Regions from separate parts of the Homo sapiens genome. Here regions 1 and 3 are each linked to region 2. The links are contacts of gene promoters, found by promoter capture Hi-C in human tissues and cell types (Jung and others, 2019). All regions are on one chromosome and are shown on one strand. The core of a region is centred on a gene start or on the middle of the fragment in contact, and the rest is flanking DNA. Distances in the headings are between cores, read along the strand shown. Region 1 has its middle 31 kb from the start of LINC01839. Region 2 holds the start of THPO (thrombopoietin). Region 3 overlaps LINC01839 (long intergenic non-protein coding RNA 1839).

Region 1 (3,913 bases), core at 476-2,975, 66 kb after region 2:
GGCATGAGCCACTGCGCCCGTCCTTTAGTGTTATTGTTACTATATTTCTGAGTTTCCAGCTGTTTATCCAATAAACTTTCATTGCTTTCATGATCAGAAAAAAATGAATAAATATTATTTTTTTCCTCCATGAAAATAGCACAATGAAGCAAACTCTCAATTCTAACATTTGAGAATGAAGTTCTTTTCTATTGAAGTTAGCATTTATTTTTATTTATTTATTTTTTTTGAGATGCAGTCTCACTCTGTCACCCAGGCTGGAGTGCAGTGGCGCGATCTTGGCTCACTGCAACCTCCACCTCCTGGTTCAAGCCTTTGCTTCCTGGGTAGTTGTGATTACAGGCCTGTGCCACCACGCCCAGCTAATTTTTGTATTTTTAGTAGAGACGGAGTTTCACCATGTTGGCCAGGCTGGTCTCAAACTCCGGACGTCAGACGATCCACCCACCTCGGCCTCTCAAAGTGCTGGGATTAAAAGCGCGAGCCACCACGCCTGGTCTGAAGTTAGCATTATTTTAAGTCTCAAAAATACATGAGAAACCTGCTGGTGTGAGTCACATGTCTGTGTGGGCACATTCCTGCTGAGCTGGTTGAAAGCATAGATGTGTGGAAAAAAGATTCCTCTCTATGCACCACTCTTTGCCCACAGGGCCATCGATGGTCAACAGGATAGACCTGTGTAAATCTGCCTTTCCAGAAGACTGGCTGGGAAACCCATGTGCTGTCTCTCCCTCTTGCCCTGTCTGTTCACCTTTTGGTCTTTGGTCAGCAGGTGCAGGGATGTGTTTGCCAATAGGGTTCCTGAAAGCTTGTCTGATTTAGACCTCCAGAGCCACCTGGGGGACATGTCAGAAGGAGAGGGGCTGGGCCTGTCCCCAGATGGACCCCTGCTCTTCTGGGAGGACAAACTGGAACTGGTCTGGATCCAGCTGCGACGCTGCTAGAGGAGAACGAGGCATCTTTTGCCCTCCAACATCTGGAGCCTGCCTCTCCAGGATGGGTACACCAGGCCTCTGCCTGCTCCCCGTTCCTTTCCACATTCCCCTTCTCTTACCTGCTTGCTACCCAGCTTGAAGGGCCTGTTTTTCCTGCTCAGGAACATTACTTATTTAGGTGATATTCAGAGCTATCTTCAAATTACAGATCACCTTGTCTACCATCCTGGAAAACATCTCTCTCTTTTTTTTTTTTTTTTTTTTTTTTCTGAGACAGAGTCTCACTCTGTTGCCAGGCTGGAGTGCAGTGGCGAGATCTCAGCTCACTGCAACCTCTGCCTCCTGGGTTCAAGTGATTCTCCTGTCTCAGCCTCCCAAGTAGCTGGAACTATAGGTGCATGCCACCACGCCGAGCTAATTTTTTTTTTTTTTTTTTTTTGAGATGGAGTCTTGCTCTGTCACCCAGGCTGGAGTGCAGTGGCGCAATCTAGGCTCACTGCAACCTCCGCCTCCCAGGTTCACGCCATTCTCCTGCCTCAGCCTTCCTAGTAGCTGGGACCACAGGTGCCCACCACCACGCCCGGCTAATTTTTTGTATTTTTAGTAGAGATGGGGTTTCACTATGTTAGCCAGGATGGTCTTGATCTCCTGACCTCATGATCCACCCGCCTCAGCCTCCCAAAGTGCTGGGATTACAGGCATGAGCCACCGCGCCCAACCAATTTTTGTATTTTTAGTGGAGACGGGGTTTCACCATGTTGGCCAGGCTGGTCTTGATCTCTTGATCTTGTGATCCGCCCCCCTCGGCCTCCTAAAGTGCTGGGATTACAGGCATGAGCCACCGCGCCCAGCTGGAAAACCTCTCTACGCATTATGAAGCTTTCTGATCTCTGATAACAGCACTTCGTTCATTTATTTATTTTTGTTTGTTTGATAACAGCATTTCTGACCACAGACTCTTTCATGGAATTGTAGCAGCTTCACTAGTGGGAATTTTACTTTGTGATACTTTCCCTACATCGATGGCCAGCATCTCCTCCCTTCTCTTTCCTTCTCCAGACTTCTAAACGTTGTGCTTTTCCATCTCACACAAGCAGGTTCAAGCCAGTGGAAGAGGTGGCCTGCCTCCCAATTGCACCAAGGGATGCATATTTCTACGTAGTTTGCTGTAGCTCTATTTCATTTTATACATCAGCTACCATCATCGTTTATGGACACTTTTCTCTCCTCATTCTGGGAGAAGCCCAGAGGCTTTCTGAAAATATCCATGAACTCTGGGGTGGATGTTCTCAGGAGCCGTCTGATGAGTTCCTGCATCTTCAGCACTGCTGAGGTCATTTACCTCCCACATTTCATGGTGATTCTTTCCCTTTGCTCCCACCAACCCAGATACGAGCCTTTTCTATGTGTTCTTCCAGAATCGCTCATGCAACACGGCTGGTTTAGAAGCAGACTTTATTTTTTTAATTTTTTGAGATAAGGTCTTCCTCTGTTGCCCAGGCTGAAATGCAGTGAAGATTTTATTGATAAGGTTGGATTTTTTTGGTCACCCAAGGCAAGCCATTTTAGCGTTAGACAGTCCTGCTTTTGAGAGTGCTCTGCAGCCCTGCTGCTGGCGACTCCTTGCTGGTGCCCTGTCTGCTCAGGCTCAGGCCTCTGCTAAGGGCCTTGGCTCCTCCCCTTGCCTAGAATCTGCTGCTGGACTGTAGAAAAGCCATATGCCACCCTCTCCCAATTTTCCCTCAGGGGTGAAGTGACAAAGTTAGTTTTGTTTGTTTTTAATTTTTAATTTTAATTTAATTTTATTATTTTATTTTATTTTTTTGATACGGAGTCTCACTCTGTCACCAGGCTGTAGTGCAGTGGCACAATCTCAGCTCACTGCAACCTCCTCCCCTCGGGTTCAAGCAATTCTCCTGCCTCAGCCTCCCGAGTAGCTGGGACTACAGGTGCCCGCCACCACGCCCGGCTAATTTTTTTTTTTTTTTTTTTGTATTTTTAGTAGAGATGGGGTTTCACCATGTTGGCCAGGATGGTCTCGATCTCTTGACCTCGTGATCCGCCCACCTTGGCCTCCCAAAGTGCTGGGATTACAGGCGTGAGTCACCGTGCCAGGCCATTGTTTTACTTTATTTTATTTTATTTTATTTTATTTATTTTATTTTGAGACGGAGTCTCATCTGTCACCCAGGCTGGAGTGCAATGGCACAATCTCGGCTCACTGCAACCTCCGCCTCCTGAGTTTAAGCAATTCTCCTGCCTCAGCCTCCCGAGTAGCTGGGATTACTGGCGTCCGCCAGCACACCCGGCTAATTTTTGTATTTTTAGTAGCGACAAGGTTTTGCCATGTTAGCCAGGCTGATCTTGAACTCCTGACCTCAAGTGATCCATCTGCCTTGGCCTCCCAAAGTGCTGGGATTACAGGCGTGAGCCACCGTGCCCAGCCTTGTTTTGTTTTTAAGAGACAGTCTTTCTCTGCCACCCAAGCTACAGTGCAGTGGCATGATTGTGGCTCACCGCAGCCCTGACCTCCTGGTCTCAAGCAATCCTCCTGCCCCAGCCTCCCGAGTAGCTAGAACTACAGGTGCATGCCACCATGCTCAGCTAATATTTTTTATTTTTGTAGAGACAGGGTCTCACTATGTTGTCCAGGCTGGTCTCAAGCTCCTGGACTCAAGCAACCCTCCCACCTTAGCTTCCCAAAGTGCAGGGATTACAGGTGTGAGGCACCATGCCCACCAGTTTATTTTTTAAACAAGGTGTTAATTTGCCTACAATTAACATAAAAAATAAAAGCAAAAATGAAATGGACAGAGTAAAATGAGGAAGGCTGAGATCCTGATGATCATACAAGGGTGGATGCGAACCATTATTATGGATTCCAGCTCTCTCATGTTAAACATCCTTAGGCACAAGCGCATGCAGCCTTTCCCACCCCAGCGACCCAACCCTGTGCCTACTCACAGCTCACATGGTTT
Region 2 (3,818 bases), core at 82-2,581:
AAGAAAGCAAGAAAGCATATGGTGTCTCCTTTTTGTCAGGACTCCTCAGTGAATCGGACATGGATTTGGTGCCACCTACCCCTGCTGAGAGCAGCAGGACATGATATGTATACACACATATCTTAATTAGCCTTAAATTCTGAGCAACCTTGGTTGTTAGGTCAGAGAAAATCTGGGATGGGGATAGAGAAGGAAAGTATTGTGGCTTCAGCCTGGAGAAGAGAGTGGAAAATGGGATGCAGGGCCTGGGTGAGGAACTGGCAAACGGGCGCAATATGTTGAGGGGTAACTTCTGCGGTGGGGAGTGGGGCTGGGGAGGGGAACTGCACAAAGCTGTAACTGGGACCACTAGAGGTCAGGATTAAAAGGCGGTATGGGAGAAATTAACCTCTATTCTTTCCCTATCTACCCCCACACATAAAGCCACTGGAGCTTTTCTCTGGACTCCAAGTCCTGAAATACTCCATTATCTGAGGCCAAGAGATGGGCTAACAGTTCTGGGACTTCCTTCCTGAGACCAGCTGCCCAGGAACGGGCACCTGCTGGGTGATGCCCACCTTAGGGGCTTACCTTGTCTTAGGCGCCCACTAACATATCTGTCTCATAGCTCACACCTGCCTCCCTGCCCCCTTGGCAGAACCCCTTCCGGTTCCTTCACAGGACCCCCCACATGGCTTCCTCCTCCTTTCACAAGTTGTGCAAAGAGGCTTGCACCTGATTCAATATTGGGATTTCCTGTAGGTCTGTCAACATGAGTGGGCCCTCCTCCCATTACCCTCTCCTTGCGCCCTGGCTTGCCTGGCCCAGCTTCCCCAGCACCAGATTCAGAACCTTAAGCTAACGAGGAATGACCAGCTAAGAATGGGGATTGGGGCTGTGTCCATCTTACTACTGTGTTTGCTAAGCCCTAAGTGCAGCTCCCTCTCTTATTTTCTCCCTGGGCTCATGTCCCCTTTCCTTAGGGCCAGCCAGGGCTGTGCTGTATTCCACCAAGTAAGTGATCAGTCCCTCAGAAACCAGCACCCCACCCCCTACCCCTGCTCTGCCCTGCTCCTCCCATTCTGGGAAGGCTACACTCTTCTCGACAAAGGTCAGTGCCTGTAGGTTCCAGTTTGCCTGCCCCTCCCCCAGCTGGGAGCCCATTTCTCTTTGCTGTCCTTTCTACCCTCACATAACCCCACACCCTGCTGGCCACTCACCGGGTGGAGAAGGGCTCCAGGACCCAAGTGCACAGCAGGCAGCCCTCTGGGGAGCAGATGGGTAGGAAGACATGTGGCGGTGGGGCACAGCCCCTCCACAGCAGCAGGTCATACGCCTGCCTGGGCCACTTCTGCCCAATCAGAGAAGGGAGCCACCAGACACTGGTGAAGGCCCCCGGAAGTGACGCCTTCTCTTCCCTGGAGCCCCTGCCTGGACCAGGGTCCACTCCTCCACCCACACACACCACGGAGAAGATTTGGATAGGGGGATCCATCTTTTCCTGGACATGGGCAACCTGGGACCTGGAGGGGGACAGGAGCAGAAGTTTTTTTCCAGGAGGAATCTGGCAGGACATTTGTGTTGCTGGGGAAGAAGCACAGAGGTCTTGTTTAAGATTGGTGGGGTTTTCACTCCCTGGCTATCCAAATTTCTTTTCCCTGGACATCATACCTGCTGCTGAAATCCAACAGGATGCTTGCTTTCCTGCTTTTCTTTCTGTAATCCCCTAGGGAGTCCTATCTTGTCATTCCCCCTTTCGAAGTGGGAACACGGATATTGCCCACATGAGAGAAATCTCCTGTTATGGGTTGGTGTTATGGGGAAAGGGTTTGGACGGGTTGAGTGGACTGTCAGGTGCGGGGCACATGTATGTGCGCACACGTGCACTGGGTTAAGCCTGAGCTTAGGTGCTCGTCTGCTGGGGTCCAGTGGCTTAGATGGCTACACACACAGACCTCTGTGCCCAGGGCCCTCCTTTGCTTGTTCTGTCTCCGTCTTCCATCTCCTACCGTTCCACATGTGACAAGAGGAATAACCAGGCCCATGTGTCCCTGTCTTAGGAAAGACAGCTGCTGGACCTCCCCCGCAAATACCTCCCTGCTGGCCCCCCTTTTCCTTTGGCCCTGGCTCTAGCTCCTTTGCTTTCTTCCCAGTCCCAGTCTCCCCACAGTCTCTGTCCTCAGGGGCTTCCTGGCCTGACCTTGATCCCATCATCCCCCTGTCCCCCAGAACTTCCTCAGGCTCTCTCCTGTTCCTCCTCCCCAAGGATGGGCATGTCTGCTGAGAAGTGTGGCCTAGATCCTGGAATTTTCCCGTCCAGCCAGACGAGATGTCTCCCAAGATTAGGAAGGAGGGTGCTGGGATAGCTGGGAGGATAGTGGGTGTGTGTGGGAGGGAGAGACAGGAGACAGGGAGGCAGGCATGACCAGGGAACCAAGAGAAAGGAGGCTGGGAGTGGGCTGGAGAGGCAGAGGGTCCCTTGGGTGAAGGAAGGGGGTGAGAAAGCAAGAGGGGACTGTCGAATGCGCCTGAGGATAAGTTACAATGAGAGGGAGATACTGTCACTCCACAGAAGGGGGAATGCTGCCGGTTTCTGGCTAGGTCCCTGTCCTGGGTAACACAAGAATGAGGAGCGACCTCAGAGAGAAGGTAGGGAGGCAGGCTAGGCAGTGAGAGAGGGTGGTGAGGGTTTGGGGGGCGCTGTGGGCCCAGGCAGGGGGAGATCGGCTGATGGACCTTTCCTGTACGTTGTCATCTTTAAAGACAAGTCTTCATCCTTCGGGCGGAACCGGGTCCTCGCTCACAGAGCGGTCCAGGCCTCAGGCCTAGCCTCTGCCCCTCCCTAGCCTGAGGCTCCCTTCCTGGGCTGGACACCGACCTCCTGGTCCAGCCGCCCTGTGGCCGCCAGCAGCGGGGGGCTCCGGGCCCGCCTCTCCTCCCCCTCTTCGCGCCCCCTGGTCCCTCCCCTCCCCCTCCCCCGCTCCCCCTTCCCCTCCCGCCCCTCCCTCCTCCCCTGCCCGGTCCCAGCCCCTCCCTCCCCTCCCCCACCCGCGATCCGGGCCGCTGCTGCTGGGTCGGACCCCCCGGGCTCAGCCCGGCCCCTCGCCGAGCTGCCGCCGCCGCCCCGTTTGCTGAGGAGGAGGCCCCCGGCCGGGGCGTCGGGCGCGGGGCATAAAACGGGCCGGAGCCGGCGCCCGGGGCAGTAGAGCCGCGTACGGCCCGGGTCAGCGCCCGCCCGCCCGCGCTCCTCCCGGCCGCTCCTCCCGCCCCGCCCGGCCCGGCGCCGACTCTGCGGCCGCCCGACGAGCCCCTCGCGGCACTGCCCCGGCCCCGGCCCCGGCCCCGGCCCCCTCCCGCCGCACCGCCCCCGGCCCGGCCCTCCGCCCTCCGCACTCCCGCCTCCCTCCCTCCGCCCGCTCCCGCGCCCTCCTCCCTCCCTCCTCCCCAGCTGTCCCGTTCGCGTCATGCCGAGCCTCCCGGCCCCGCCGGCCCCGCTGCTGCTCCTCGGGCTGCTGCTGCTCGGCTCCCGGCCGGCCCGCGGCGCCGGCCCAGAGCCCCCCGTGCTGCCCATCCGTTCTGAGAAGGAGCCGCTGCCCGTTCGGGGAGCGGCAGGTAGGTGGGCGCCCGGGGGAGGCGCGGGCGGGGAGTCGGGCTCGGGGCGAGTCAGCGCCAGCCCGGAGGGGGCGCGGGGCGCAGGTGGCTCGGCGCGGCGGGCGGCCCGGAGGGTGGGCGGGGGCAGAAGGGCGCGGTGCCTGGGACCCGGGACCCGCGGGCAGCCCCCGGGGCGGCACACGGCGCGAGCTGGGCAGCGGCCTCCAGCCAAGCCCGTCCCCGCAGGC
Region 3 (3,775 bases), core at 435-2,934, 110 kb after region 2:
TACCTGCCGTCTCCTGCCGGATAGGAGCTGGATGGCAGGACAAGTGGAAACCTGCTGAGGTTCCTTCACTGGGAAGGGAGTGTCATGCAAGAGACACAGAAGCCCCAAAGGGCCCACACGGAGCCACTAATAGCAGGATGGGGGCAGAAGCTTTGGAGACATAAAGACCAGGACTGGATTTTCAACTCCCCCTTTCCCTAGGCATGAAACACTGGAAAATTCACTCAGTCATCTGACACCGGGTACCTCACATAAAAATTAAGATAACAACATCTTACAGAGTGGGCGCTAAAATTAGAGATAATGTTTGCATGAATCACGGTGCTCTAAAAGCTGGCCATCGTCATCATTTTGGTCCGCGCACACACACACACGCACGCACATACACACGCACACATTAAAAAATAGACAGAGAGATAAAGTGAGTGCCTCCGTGGGTCTCCCCGAGGCATGAAGGTGCTGGATTGAATGTGCGTGGAGAATCTCAGGCAATGCTCTTACAGGTAATGGTACTGGGGGCCACGGGCCTTTCAAGGGCCTTAAGATAATGTTTCACACCTCAAATTAAATGATTGACTCAAAATACAAAATAAAAACTCTACAATTAAAATTGATGAAGGCGAAGTCATCTCCAATGCGACAAACTCATAAATGATACTTTATCCTTAGATGTAAACTCTACAAGAGTTATATAGGCTGTAGTATGTTGGTGTCAGAGTTCTAAGCTTTATATTTTGGCTCCACCACTGTGTGGTTCTGGGCAAGTCACTGAACCTCTCTGTGCCTTTTTCCTTATCTGTAAAATGGGAATAATAATAGTGCGTACTTCAAATAGTTATTGTAAAGTACTTAAAATGGTGTCTGGCACATAACAAGCCTGGCTATTATTATATTTATTAGGATGAAGGTGCATTTTAATATGCTTGATATAATTGGGGTAGGGCTTCCAGAAGTAAAAGGGTCTGAGCCTCATAAAGGCCTTAAAACAACTCTGATCACTTCTATGTGACTGTATTTTTATGTAAATCAGGTATAACTCAGATTGTAAACTACAGAGTGTGATTGCATCTTTATAAAAATTAATGGTTCTCTGCAGGATGGTACTGCTCCCAGAGGTATTTTGGAGATTTGCATGGCTTTTTCTTTTGTCATCATGAACAGGGGTTACTGCTGGCATTTAGTTGGGTCAGACTAGTACAACAAAGATTTCTCGTGTGTCCCTCAGGACTTTTATTTATATTTTATTTATTTATTTATTTTGAGACGGAATCTCGCTCTGTCACCCAGGCTGGAGTGCAATGGCGCGATCTCAGCTCACTGCAAACTCCGCCTCCCGGGTTCAAGTGATTCTCTCACCTCAGCCTTCTGAGTAGCTGAGATTACAGGTAGGCGCCACGATGCCCTGCTAATTTTCATATTTTTAGTAGAGACGGGGTTTCGCCCTGTTGGTCAGTCTGGCCTCAAACTCCAGACCTCAAGAGATCTGCCCGCCTCTGCTTTCCAAAGTGCTGGGATTATAGGTGTGAGCCACCGCTCCTGGTTCCTCAGGACTTTTAATACAACAAACCTGACCGGACATGGTGGCTCACGCTGGTAATTTCAGCACTTTGAGAGGCTGAGGTGGGTAGATCACTGGAGGTCAGGAGTTTGAGACCAGCCTAGGCAAAACCCCGTCTCTACTAAACATACAAAAATTAGTTGAGAATGGTGGTGTGTGCCTATAGCCCTAGCTACTCGGGAGGCTGAGGCAGGAGAATCGCTTGAACCTGGGGGGTGGAGGTTGCAGTGACTGAGATCTTGCCACTGCACTCTAGCCTGGGTGACAGAGCAAGACTCTGTCTCAAAAAATAATAAATAAATAAATAAATAAATAAATACAACAAACCTATTTATGACAATCCAATTTAAAATCTAACTGAACCTAGAATTATATAGGTGAAAAACCTGCTTCTAATTATTTGAGCCTAGAACGAATTCCATTTTATAAGTGAATACAAAGTGGGTTTTTTTTGTCAAGGTTTAGTAAGTACTAAATTTCCTAGGAAGCATCAAATGCATACATCAAGGAAATACGGCGCAGTGCTTTATTTGAAAATTTGTCAAGAGTTCACCATTTTGAAAAGTCACGGATGGCGATCCTGCTTATATTATTGGCATCATCTAATTAGTGTCCATTGTAACTGTCCTCTTCATGGCTACTACCTCTACACAGGAATATACTGATTTAGCCTCTATGGCAAAATGTCAAATATGGAGGAAAAGGGTGAGTATTATTCAGCTGAATGTTAAAAACTTGGTTTTTATATCTTCCCACATGTGGAGAGTTGTCAATATGCCTACTCTACACTTCTTTTAAAATAAACAGTGACCACAAGAAGACAGAAAATAAAGATTGTATAAAGAAATACATTTATAAAGTTGGCAGCATATCATACTTCTGAGATTTAAAGAAGTTTGAAACTAGAATAGCCACGGAATGTTAAAGAAAAATCTCTGAGTAGAAGGTAAAGTTGTTGCTAATTCTTTCAGCATAATATAAATGATTGCAGAATATGGTAAGCAGTATAATATTATAGAAAAAACTCAAATTACCAGTGGTTTATAGGTTATTAGAATGATAGGAAAAAATCCAACTGAAATTTTTTTCTTCACTGAATTCTGATGATACTGTTGTAAGAAAAATCAATGAGATGGTGAAACTGGTGAATATCAGCTGTGTAATGAGACCAGTGGAGCACATTTTCGTTACTAGTGGATAAGATCTCCCAGTGGAACGAGGAAGCTCTCCTGTTCACATGGATAAGGTTAAGAAATGAAAAAAGCCACAGTGAAAATTTATTTTCAAAATTACTGGCAATGTATACAAAGGCACTGACAGCATCCAAAACCCTTGGAATGTATTTCACAGAAAAAAGTAATTCCCTTTCCCATTGTCATTATATTGTACGTGCCACAGATTGAGCCTCAACTAGAATTTCTTGGCAACATGGGTTTGTAGGCCATTAAAAAAATTAGCACCAGATGTTTAGCACGTTGAGAAGACAAACATTTTGTGAAAATTGTATGTTATTTTATTTATTTTGAATTCCTTGTTGTTTTTCAAGATTTTCAGTGTTGCAATGATCTGCCTTTGAAGGCTTAACCTCTCTGAGACCTCTTGTAGTCTCTTATTTTACAGTTTCTTCTTCCAACTTAGCCTTTATTCTCCACCACCTGATGAAATAAAATAACCCTAGACCACAATGAAATAAACAGGGTCCAAAACTTCATCACGTAAAATGTACAGTTGCATTCTTTCAATGTTGATTTAAAAAAATGTCTTTCAGGAGGCTTGTACTATCAAAAAAAGGCACAAAGGTAAAAATATTGAAGCATATTATATACAATTATCCATATATCCAACTGAGCAAGTCCCAATTACGTTATTTTATTTCATTTTTATTCATTACTTTTCAACTTTTATTTTCGATTCAGTGGGTACATGTGCAGGTCTGTTACCAGGGTATATTGTACAATGCTGAGGTCTGGGGTAACAATGATCCCGACACGCAGCTACTGAGCATAGTACCCAACAGTTTTTCAACCTTGCCCCACTCTCTCCCTCCCCACTCAGTGGTCCCCAGTGTCTATTATTACCATCTTTATCTCCATGATTACCCAATGTTTAACTCTCACTTATAAGTGAGAACATATGGTACTTGTTTTTCTGTTCCTGCATTCATTTGCTTAGGATAATGACCTCCAGCTGCATCAATGTTGCTGCAAAGAACATGAT

Evidence for each region. The method cuts DNA at HindIII sites, captures the fragments that hold promoters and counts their contacts. A contact is called where the count stands out against the background at its distance.
Region 1: a fragment that was not itself captured here is called in contact with the fragment with the promoter of THPO in region 2 in 2 of the 25 tissues and cell types used here (mesendoderm cells and spleen).
Region 3: a fragment that was not itself captured here is called in contact with the fragment with the promoter of THPO in region 2 in 6 of the 25 tissues and cell types used here (H1 embryonic stem cells, IMR-90 fibroblasts, aorta and 3 more).

The regions. Positions count from the first base shown.
Region 1 is chr3:184,442,975-184,446,887 of GRCh38, forward strand. No RefSeq gene overlaps it. Among named protein-coding and RNA genes, the nearest start is that of LINC01839, 31 kb to the right of the region's middle. The HindIII fragment of the contact is 3,261 bases long and covers 96-3,356 here.
Region 2 is chr3:184,376,876-184,380,693 of GRCh38, forward strand. It overlaps THPO (thrombopoietin), which reads right to left and starts at 1,332. Exons shown (of 6, transcript NM_000460.4): 1 at 1,200-1,332. It overlaps CHRD (chordin), which reads left to right and starts at 3,179. Exons shown (of 23, transcript NM_003741.4): 1 at 3,179-3,591; 2 at 3,817-3,818. The coding sequence starts at 3,444. The HindIII fragment of the contact is 16,052 bases long and covers 1-3,818 here.
Region 3 is chr3:184,482,455-184,486,229 of GRCh38, forward strand. The region is part of intron 1 of LINC01839 (long intergenic non-protein coding RNA 1839); the gene reads left to right. Among named protein-coding and RNA genes, the nearest start is that of LINC01839, 8.4 kb to the left of the region's middle. The HindIII fragment of the contact is 8,326 bases long and covers 1-3,775 here.